Linked DNA regions of Homo sapiens: regions 1 and 3 are each linked to region 2. The links are contacts of gene promoters, found by promoter capture Hi-C in blood cells and fetal thymus (Javierre and others, 2016). All regions are on one chromosome and are shown on one strand. Each heading gives the region's core, a stretch centred on a gene start or on the middle of the fragment in contact. The rest is flanking DNA. Distances are from core to core; before and after follow the strand shown.

The links. The method cuts DNA at HindIII sites, captures the fragments that hold promoters and counts their contacts. A CHiCAGO score of 5 or more calls a contact.
Region 1: a contact is called between a fragment that was not itself captured here and the fragment with the promoter of GFM1 in region 2, in 1 of 17 cell types (M0 macrophages). The highest score is 5.4, in M0 macrophages.
Region 3: a fragment that was not itself captured here is called in contact with the fragment with the promoter of GFM1 in region 2 in 1 of 17 cell types (M2 macrophages); the score reaches 7.4 in M2 macrophages.

Annotation. Positions count from the first base shown.
Region 1 is chr3:159,257,078-159,259,800 of GRCh38, reverse strand. All of the region lies in intron 3 of IQCJ-SCHIP1 (IQCJ-SCHIP1 readthrough), which reads right to left. All of the region lies in intron 3 of IQCJ (IQ motif containing J), which reads right to left. Among named protein-coding and RNA genes, the nearest start is that of SCHIP1, 15 kb to the left of the region's middle. The HindIII fragment of the contact is 4,962 bases long and covers 1-2,723 here.
Region 2 is chr3:158,642,928-158,645,818 of GRCh38, reverse strand. It overlaps GFM1 (G elongation factor mitochondrial 1), which reads right to left and starts at 1,292. Exons shown (of 18, transcript NM_024996.7): 1 at 1,104-1,292; 2 at 38-190. The coding sequence starts at 1,184. The HindIII fragment of the contact is 2,960 bases long and covers 695-2,891 here.
Region 3 is chr3:157,864,647-157,867,346 of GRCh38, reverse strand. No RefSeq gene overlaps it. Among named protein-coding and RNA genes, the nearest start is that of SHOX2, 240 kb to the left of the region's middle. The HindIII fragment of the contact is 3,328 bases long and covers 1-2,700 here.

The DNA.
Region 1 (2,723 bases), core at 112-2,611, 610 kb before region 2:
AGCATTTGGGGTCAAAAAATGACAGGGCCATCATGTCACACCAGGCTATTACCCAAAATTGCTACATTGTTTTTTAATGATGGAACTATGCTATGTTATTCTCTGTATCATAGAAAAGTGTTTACATGTTATTTACTCCCCTTGGCGATTCCTACAACATGACCTTCAAAGATTAAATTGTTCCAGTATTAAGCTGTCTTAATACCATCTCCAGATGTTATTTTACTGTAAGAGGGAACTAAAGTAAAATTTAGAAGCACCTCATCTCTCAATCATAAGGAATCACTTTCAGCCTTCTTCTCCTAGATTTACCATAATTCTTGTTCACAAGTCTCCTTTGTGGCTACAGAGTAAATTACCCACTACCTTGACATTTTTTTTTTGAAACTAGACAATGCTATTCATTATAATTATTTAAAGGCTTGTTGAAGTAAGAAAGCACATGTTGTGTGCTCCTATATTTTGAATTATAAATAAAGTGTAAGGGTTTACTTCTAAACAGATGACAAATACATTTTCAACAATTTTTCTTTTTGCTAGGTCAGTTCCTGTGTATCTTCTCTTATAGCAGGGGTGGCACAATCTGCCTGCCTCTGCCCTTTTTCTGTATATCCCTGTGTGTTTTGCAGTGCGGTTGGCTCTGTCATGCACTCACAGCCACTTGGGGGACTCACAGCCAGTGCAGTCCGGGTTGCCAATGCATATGTTTATCTAGAAGAGGAGAGGAGAGGGTTCCCAGAGAGCTAGGGTGCTTAGAGAAGGCTTGAGGGAGTCCTAGTATTTTAATTAGTCCTGAAGCATGGATGGGATTGAGATTGATGGAGAGGAAGAAGATCTTTGGGCAAAGGCACAGAAGTGAAGACACCAGGCAGGAAGCAGGAGGATCCCAGAGAAGAGCAGTAAGTCTGAGGCTACAAAGATGGCAAGAGGCTCTCAGAAGCCACCTGGGGTCAGGCTGGGGGCAGACTGTGCAGTGGGGCACAGACTGGGCAGTGTGGGCAACCCTGCTTTGGTGCAGTTGATAATTGGTTTCAACTTTTCAAGAACAGCCAGAAATCTTGATTTTTTATGAGAAAGTACTATTTTTTATATGTTACCAAACAATTATAAAAAATTCAAAATACATTATAACTCAAGTAGGCTGAATTTAGGGATGGACAAAAGAGGACACCATCAGAGAGGATACATTGAATCTGAGTATCTTGGAAACAATAGCTGACATACATAGAGCTCTTTTTTGTGTTGATTCTCTCATTCAATCCTTACCACAAGTGAACTGTGAGGGAGGCACCATGATTATCACATGGGTAGATTTTGCGTGCCCAATATTAATTTCTCCTTTTCATTGGTTTTGCGGATCCACCAACTCTTTACCCACGAGCTTTGGATGAAACAGATCCTACCCTATCACTGTAGAGGGTGGTCCATTCCCCCGGGCTGACTAGCCAGAGGGCCGTGGTTGGTTCAGTTTGGAGATGCACACATGGTTCAAGCCAGGTCTATTAAAGGCTGCTCTGGGGATTGTACTGAGACTATGAGAAAAAGGCCCTCTTTTTCATCTAAAGTTTCAGCAAGTAGAGCTGAAACTACCTGCAAGCCTAGAGCTGGCAGTGGCCACTTTGTTGCAATGTTGTGAGAACCCACATGAGAATGAATCATGGAAAGAGCAGAGTTTATAGAAGAAGAAAGACAGATGCCTGATAACCTTGCCCAATCGCCCGGGTTTCAGTGTGCTTAAAGCACGTTAGACCATGGGTATTTCTGTTATGTGATTCAATATGATCTTTTTTACATCTATAAATTAGTTTGAGCTGAGTTTCTGATACTTACAACCAAACAGTCCTGGCCGGTCTCAGGAAACAAGATGGGAACTGATCATCATTCCCAAAACTCAGAGCAGATCCCTGCCTCCCCATTACGTTTGTTCCCTCCTTACGGTTCAGCAAAAGGCAGAAATAGAGAAACAGGATGGAGACAGTGGGTTTGGCTTGTCATATACTGACTGTGAGTGGAGAAGTAGAACCCCTACTTATTTCAGTCTGTTAGTTGATTTTTCTATATGCAGCTAGCTAAAAGCTATCCTAACAGATATATCATATTTGCATCATTTGTTATCTATCCCAACCCTGTATCCTGATACAAACTTGTTCAAATGTCAATACGGGGCCACTGCATGCAACAGGCAGGTTTCCCACAGAAACTGCCCTCTCTTTCCAGCCTGCTTCCCCTCCACTCCAGTATCCGCCCGGTTTGTAGCTCTCGACTTCACTGCCACACTGATGGATGATGCTTCCTACGCACCAGGGCCTATGCTCTCTTGGCTCTTTCCATAGGTCTCTTCTCAAATACCCATAACTTTGCAGACTGTCAAGAATGTCAATGTTCTCACACATGAGAATTTGGGCAATTTGGGTCCTGGATCTATAACACTCTTTTCTTTATGAGGACTGAGAAGGTGCTTCAGAAATAATGCACCCAGGGTTACTGAGTCTAAGAAAGAAAATAGTGGTCCTGCAATACTATTAAACATCCAAAAAGAAGAGTATCAGATTAGGCTAATCCAAATGCTTCTTTTCAAACAAGTCCTCTTCCCCCACTAGAATGTAAAATCCTTGAGGGCAGTGACCACTCCACAGTTCTGGGATATATGACAAGTAGGTGATTAACAAATGTAATTCTTCTAACATTGCATCCCAGAAATAGCTCAAAGAAGAAAAAGTTTT
Region 2 (2,891 bases), core at 43-2,542:
GGTTCTAATTAATCCGGAATCAACCGTGAATATATACCTCATGCATCTTTGCAATTCTGCCAGTGTAGTAAAGGACTCGTTCTGTTAATGTAGTTTTCCCAGAATCAATGTGAGCTGAGATTCCAATATTTCGTATTTTTTCATTAGGAATCACCCCTGATGAAGACCATCGGCAGGCCTTCCAATTAACCTGAAAAAAATACGAGAGCTCAATTCTATGCACCTTTTATAAGAGAGAACAACAGACAATTAAAAGGAGTATGGTGGACATTATTCCTCCAAGAAATCTCACTGGATATGAGATAGCTTGAGAAAGGCACCAGGGGAAACCTTTAAGCCTGGAACTCTTGTAATCAGAGGACAGACTTCAAAACAAGACAGTAAAGACGTATTCTTTTAAAATTAATTAATGAATAAGTTAAATTTAATTAAAATGGGAGACACTTTTTACTGCAGATTTGAAAATACACACTGGGGCAGATAAAATCACAAAGACAGCTCCAAAAAATACTTTAATAGAAAATACAAATTTTAGCTTAAATTTAACTTAATTTTTTTCCCTTTCTCCTTTATTGTAGTTCACAGATGACAAATATGTTTGAGAACTTATATGCTCTATGCAGTGATGCTAGTAGCTCCAAGACAGCCCCCAAAGATTTCCAATTCCCTCCAAACAAAAACAATTCATGAAGCTTGTTTTAACTTTACTCTGGTGGCAGGGGATGGGGATCCCTATTAGATGGAATGAAGATACAATATAAACCTTTCCCTATAGGACTGCACATCCAAAATGCACAATTATTCACGGGAAAAGAGAGGCAAAAAAAAAAAAAAAAAACCTTAGAAAAGGTGGATAAAATATCAAAGTATCTGAGTGACAGACACTTTTAGTTGATTAAACCCTAGGGATACCAGAGAGCGAAACAAACGAGCTAACGAGCTAATGTGCAGGCACCGAGGTGCTTTTCAGCACTGACGAGCGACTGCCAGTATTCGGAGCTGTCAGTCATGAGGACCCAGGGGGTGTCACGGCCTTCCATTGCCCAGAAGGGATCACAAGGTTCCGGGAATGGTCCCGATTTAGCCTCTCTATGCTCCGGTACCTGCTTCCTCTGCCAGCCTAGGGAGGCGGGGGCCCTTCCGCGCCCCAGAGCCGCGACGGCTGCAGCTCCCAGGAGTCTCATGGCAAGCGCAGAGCACGCGTCAAAGTCCCGTGGCGCCGGGTGGGTTCAGCTGCCGGTAACGCACCGGGAAGCGGTCAAAGTCACGCCGGCAGCCAATGTTGTAAGAGCACTTCCGGGGCAAAGGACGCGAGGAAAAAGAGAGTGAGGAAAAGAAAGAAGAGCAACTGGATTGGAGGCGGAGCAGTGCCTACGCTGCTCGCGCGCCGTCTGCCGACTTGGAAGAGAAAGTGCAATCGCTTTGCGGAGCTAAAGAAGTGTTTGCTCCCAGTAAGACGGCATAGGTATATGGGTGAGGGAAGGGAGTCCTTTTGTCTTCGTCTTCTTTTTTAAATATTACCTCTGTATGAAGATACAGAATTTAAACATGGTTGTTAGGCCTATAAAGCAATGTGGAGAAATGTATATAACAATTTAAGTAGAAAAGAGCAAAATTGTCTATTACAAATATTAATAGGTATATATATGACATGGCCTGAAAAAGAACGTGGACAAATTATAGTGAATGAACTATCAATTACAATTACAAATACTTTTCCTCATGTCAAAATGTTATTTGTTATTGTTCGATGTCAGACATTTCATGTCCTGTCCATGTGGAAGACTGCATCCTTGACCATTCTGCTTGGATGTGTTAAGAGGCATGTTGAACCTAACAGGTCCAAAACTGAGCTTCGGATCTTCTTCCCCAAACCTTCCACAGTCTTATCCATCTCATAAATGTAAACTTTAGTGATTCTAGCCAAAAATATTAGTCGCTTTGACACCATGCTGTGACATCTCCGGTCTAATCAGTCAGCATATCCTGTAAGCTCTACTTTCAAAAAGACATCCAGGGCCGGACGCGGTGGCTCACACCTGTAGTCCCAGCACTTTGGAAGGCCGAGGCGGGCAGATCACGAGGTCATGAGATGGAGACCATCCTGGCTAACACAGTGAAACCCCGTCTCTACTAAAAATACAAAAAAAAATTAGCCGGGCGCGGTGGCGGGCGCCTGTAGTCCCAGCTACTCGGGAGGCTGAGGCAGGAGAATGGTGTGAACCCAGGAGGCGGAGCTTGCAGTGAGCCGAGATCACGCCACTGCACTCCACCCTGGGTGACAGAGCGAGTCTCAAAAAAAAAAAAAAAAAAAGAAAATCCAGAACTTACTTCTCCCCACCTCTCAGTACTGCCGTTTCTGGAGGGAACTATTGTAATAGCCTTGTAACCGATCTCACTGCTTCTATCCTTGCTGTTGTCAGTGGGCCGGTTCAGGTGCTTGACTTCACCACACAAAAGAATTTGAAAGCAAGTACAAAGTAAGAGTAGGCAAAAAAGTTTATTGTAAACCAAAAGTACACTCTGAGAGGCAGAGTGGGCTGCTCAGAAGAGAGACAGACAGCCTTTAGTATCTCTAGGGAATTCCCTTTATGGGTGAGGCAGGAGAACAGGGTCTAGAGACAGGGAACCGAAGGCCCTGCTGACTTCCTAGAGCTGAACCAAAAGGAAAACCCCACCTCTCCATGCCCAAGTAACAAAAGGATCGGAGGCTACTCCCAATGCACTGCATTGCAGATGAAAAAATGGAAAGTACCTCTGACTGGTCCCCTCTGGCAAATAATCAGACTGGTAGCAGGCCAAGTCCTCATGTGTAACTTTGTAACTTCACTTCAGCCTCTGATTGGTCACCTCCTGCAACCAAGCAGGCTGGTTATGGGCCACTCCTTCAT
Region 3 (2,700 bases), core at 129-2,628, 780 kb after region 2:
GAGGATCTGTCAGGGTTAGCAATGAGAAAGTCAACAGGGATGACTTCACCATGGACATTCAAAAGAAAATCATTGAAGCCTCATTTTATTTTCCTGGAAAAATTGCTGAAGTTCTTGGGTATATTTGTGAAAATTTCTGACCTTTCCTGGGATCTTCTGGGCATGGATAAAGTGAAGAATGCTGTTATTTTGCTATTGGTTTGAATGAAAGCTGTATTAAATCCAGAGAAACCAATCAACACCTGATACATTTTTTTGTTCCTTCCAAGAATTGGCAACTAGTTGCAATTGTCATCTATACTTTGTTATATATAGGATCAGACTTGTTTTCTTTTTCTCATTTTAGTTTCATTTCTTTTTGGTGTTGAAGTGATAATAGAAACTTTTATCAGGCCAAGAGCAGTGGCTCACGCCTGTAATCCCAGTAATTTGGAGGGCCGAGGTGGGCAGATCACCTGAGGTCAGGAGTTCCAGACCAGCCTGGCCAACATGGTGAAACCTTGTCTCTACTAAAAATACAAAAATTAGCTGGGCGTGGTGGAATAGAGTGAGACTCCATCTCCAAAAAAAAAAAAAAAAAGAAACTTTTATCCTTCACTACTTATAATGTCGATACGTCGATATTTTAAGGGGACTTAAAACCTTTTCAGGTACCAGGAGGCAGGGGCTTCTGTATTTGCATATTTAACTTCAATTTATAATGAACAAATCAAATATAGAATAGGAAAAATGCAATAACAAATATGTGAATAAAATATAAAAGTATTTGTACAACATCCCTTAGTTTAAAAGATACACTATTTTAAAAATAGTTTAATGATATTTGCCAGATTGTTTTCCTCTTCGATTGTTTGCTTCTGAGGCTTTGTTTTGCACCCTCAGGTTTGTTGTCAGCTGATAAGCAATATCTCTGCAAGAGTTTAAATAATCCACTACTTACTTAGCCACATACATGGAGCTGCTTACTTGAATTTGTCTGATACCAATGATTTCTTATTTCTCAGGAACTGATCCATGTTTCCTTGGTCCTGAATGTTGGAGTAAACTCCCTATGCTGGTTTTCCACAAAGTGAGGCAGTAGAAAACTTAAGTTAAAAGTCAAAACCCTCCTTATTGGGTTTGTGAAACATCACTTAAATGAGGGAGGCCTTAGTTTTATACTCTAAAATGGAGTTAACGTTATTCTTTTATTTCTCTTACATGGTTGTTTTGAGACTCAAATGGTATGATGTCCATGTTTTGGTGACTGGACATGATACACTGGAATGAAACTAGCATAGACTGACCCTCTATTAGGAGCCGTGTACTGGGCTGAGTGGATTTACAGACCTTGTCTCATGTGGCCACATGCAGGATTTGGATATATTATTATGATGCAGCATGACGGTCCTAATAGTCTTTGATTATTGTAAAGCAAATTTTCTGCTCCAGTTCTTTGACCCTCACAGTGGAGATCTTCAATCCCATTATGTCTTCCTGAGTTGTTTCTAATAGACTCACTCAGGCTGTCCCCGGTGAGTAACTCACTGTAGCCCTGTGACCTTGGGACGCAGCCTGTCCAAAGGGAAGACCACCCAGTAACTCAGACTCCACATTGCTTAGCCATCTCAGAGTGCTCTGTCTATCTTACTACCCAACCCCCTACTTCCAGCAAATTTAAGAGCTGTCAGTTCCACCTCGGTAATATCTCTTACATCAATTTCTACTCCCTGTCGGCTTTGTTAGTGGCCTATTTCAGGTAGTTGTTAGGTCTCACGCAGAACTCCCTGTGGGGTGGCCAGTGAGTGGGCCTCCTCCGAGGCTGCCACGCCCCCTGCTGGTGGGGGAGGGCATTCCTGAAGGCAGCTGGAGAAGCAGCAGGGCCAGGGTAAGAATTTCATCTGGGGCCTGGGCCTCAGAATTCATTTAGACTTTGACATCTGTTTCCTTTGGTCTAGAGGTGGTACCAAGGGGATGACTTGGTGGCGTGGGTTGGGGGTGCTTTAGTTTCCTCATAATTTTCATCACAACTTAATAGACCCACCCTGAGAAGATACAATCCAAGTTTACTATGCACATACAGCTTTAAGCCACCAACACCCCTTCCAATGAGATTGCCACTTCTGAGCTCCCTCTAATATAGAAATTCCAGAGACATGGAACCTAGTCCTTCAACTGGACTTGCCTGGCATCTTCAGTGTCGTATTTGACCTACTGTACTTGCCAGATCCAGCTTTGCTACTTGTTTTTCCTCCCTTGACTGCCTGTTTCTAAGTCTTGATCTCATTCATCTTTCAGATTCTTGATGTCTTCCATTACCCTGGTCTGTCCCAACTCCAGACCTCCCTGCTTCCTCCTCAAATGAAAAGAAAGAGGGTTTACTGTGAAATTGAACATAAGAAATGAAATTCAAAGCAGTGGATTTAAAACTATTTTGACTATTTTACATTAAGGCCAAGTGAACACACACACACACACACACACACACACACACATATACATATAATTACTTATACGCTAGCACATGTGATGTTTTTCTATTCTCTTTTATTTCGTGTTTTTTAAAAAGTCAGTGCTCCTGATTCACCAACTGGTCCCAATTGATTGAAGGAGCTCAATTTGCTGTTTTAAAATGCTGTTCTAAGGAAATATACACGGGAAAAGTGGAACTAAACTGAGTGGGGCCTTATTTATAACAGTAAGCAGGGTTTTATCTGAATT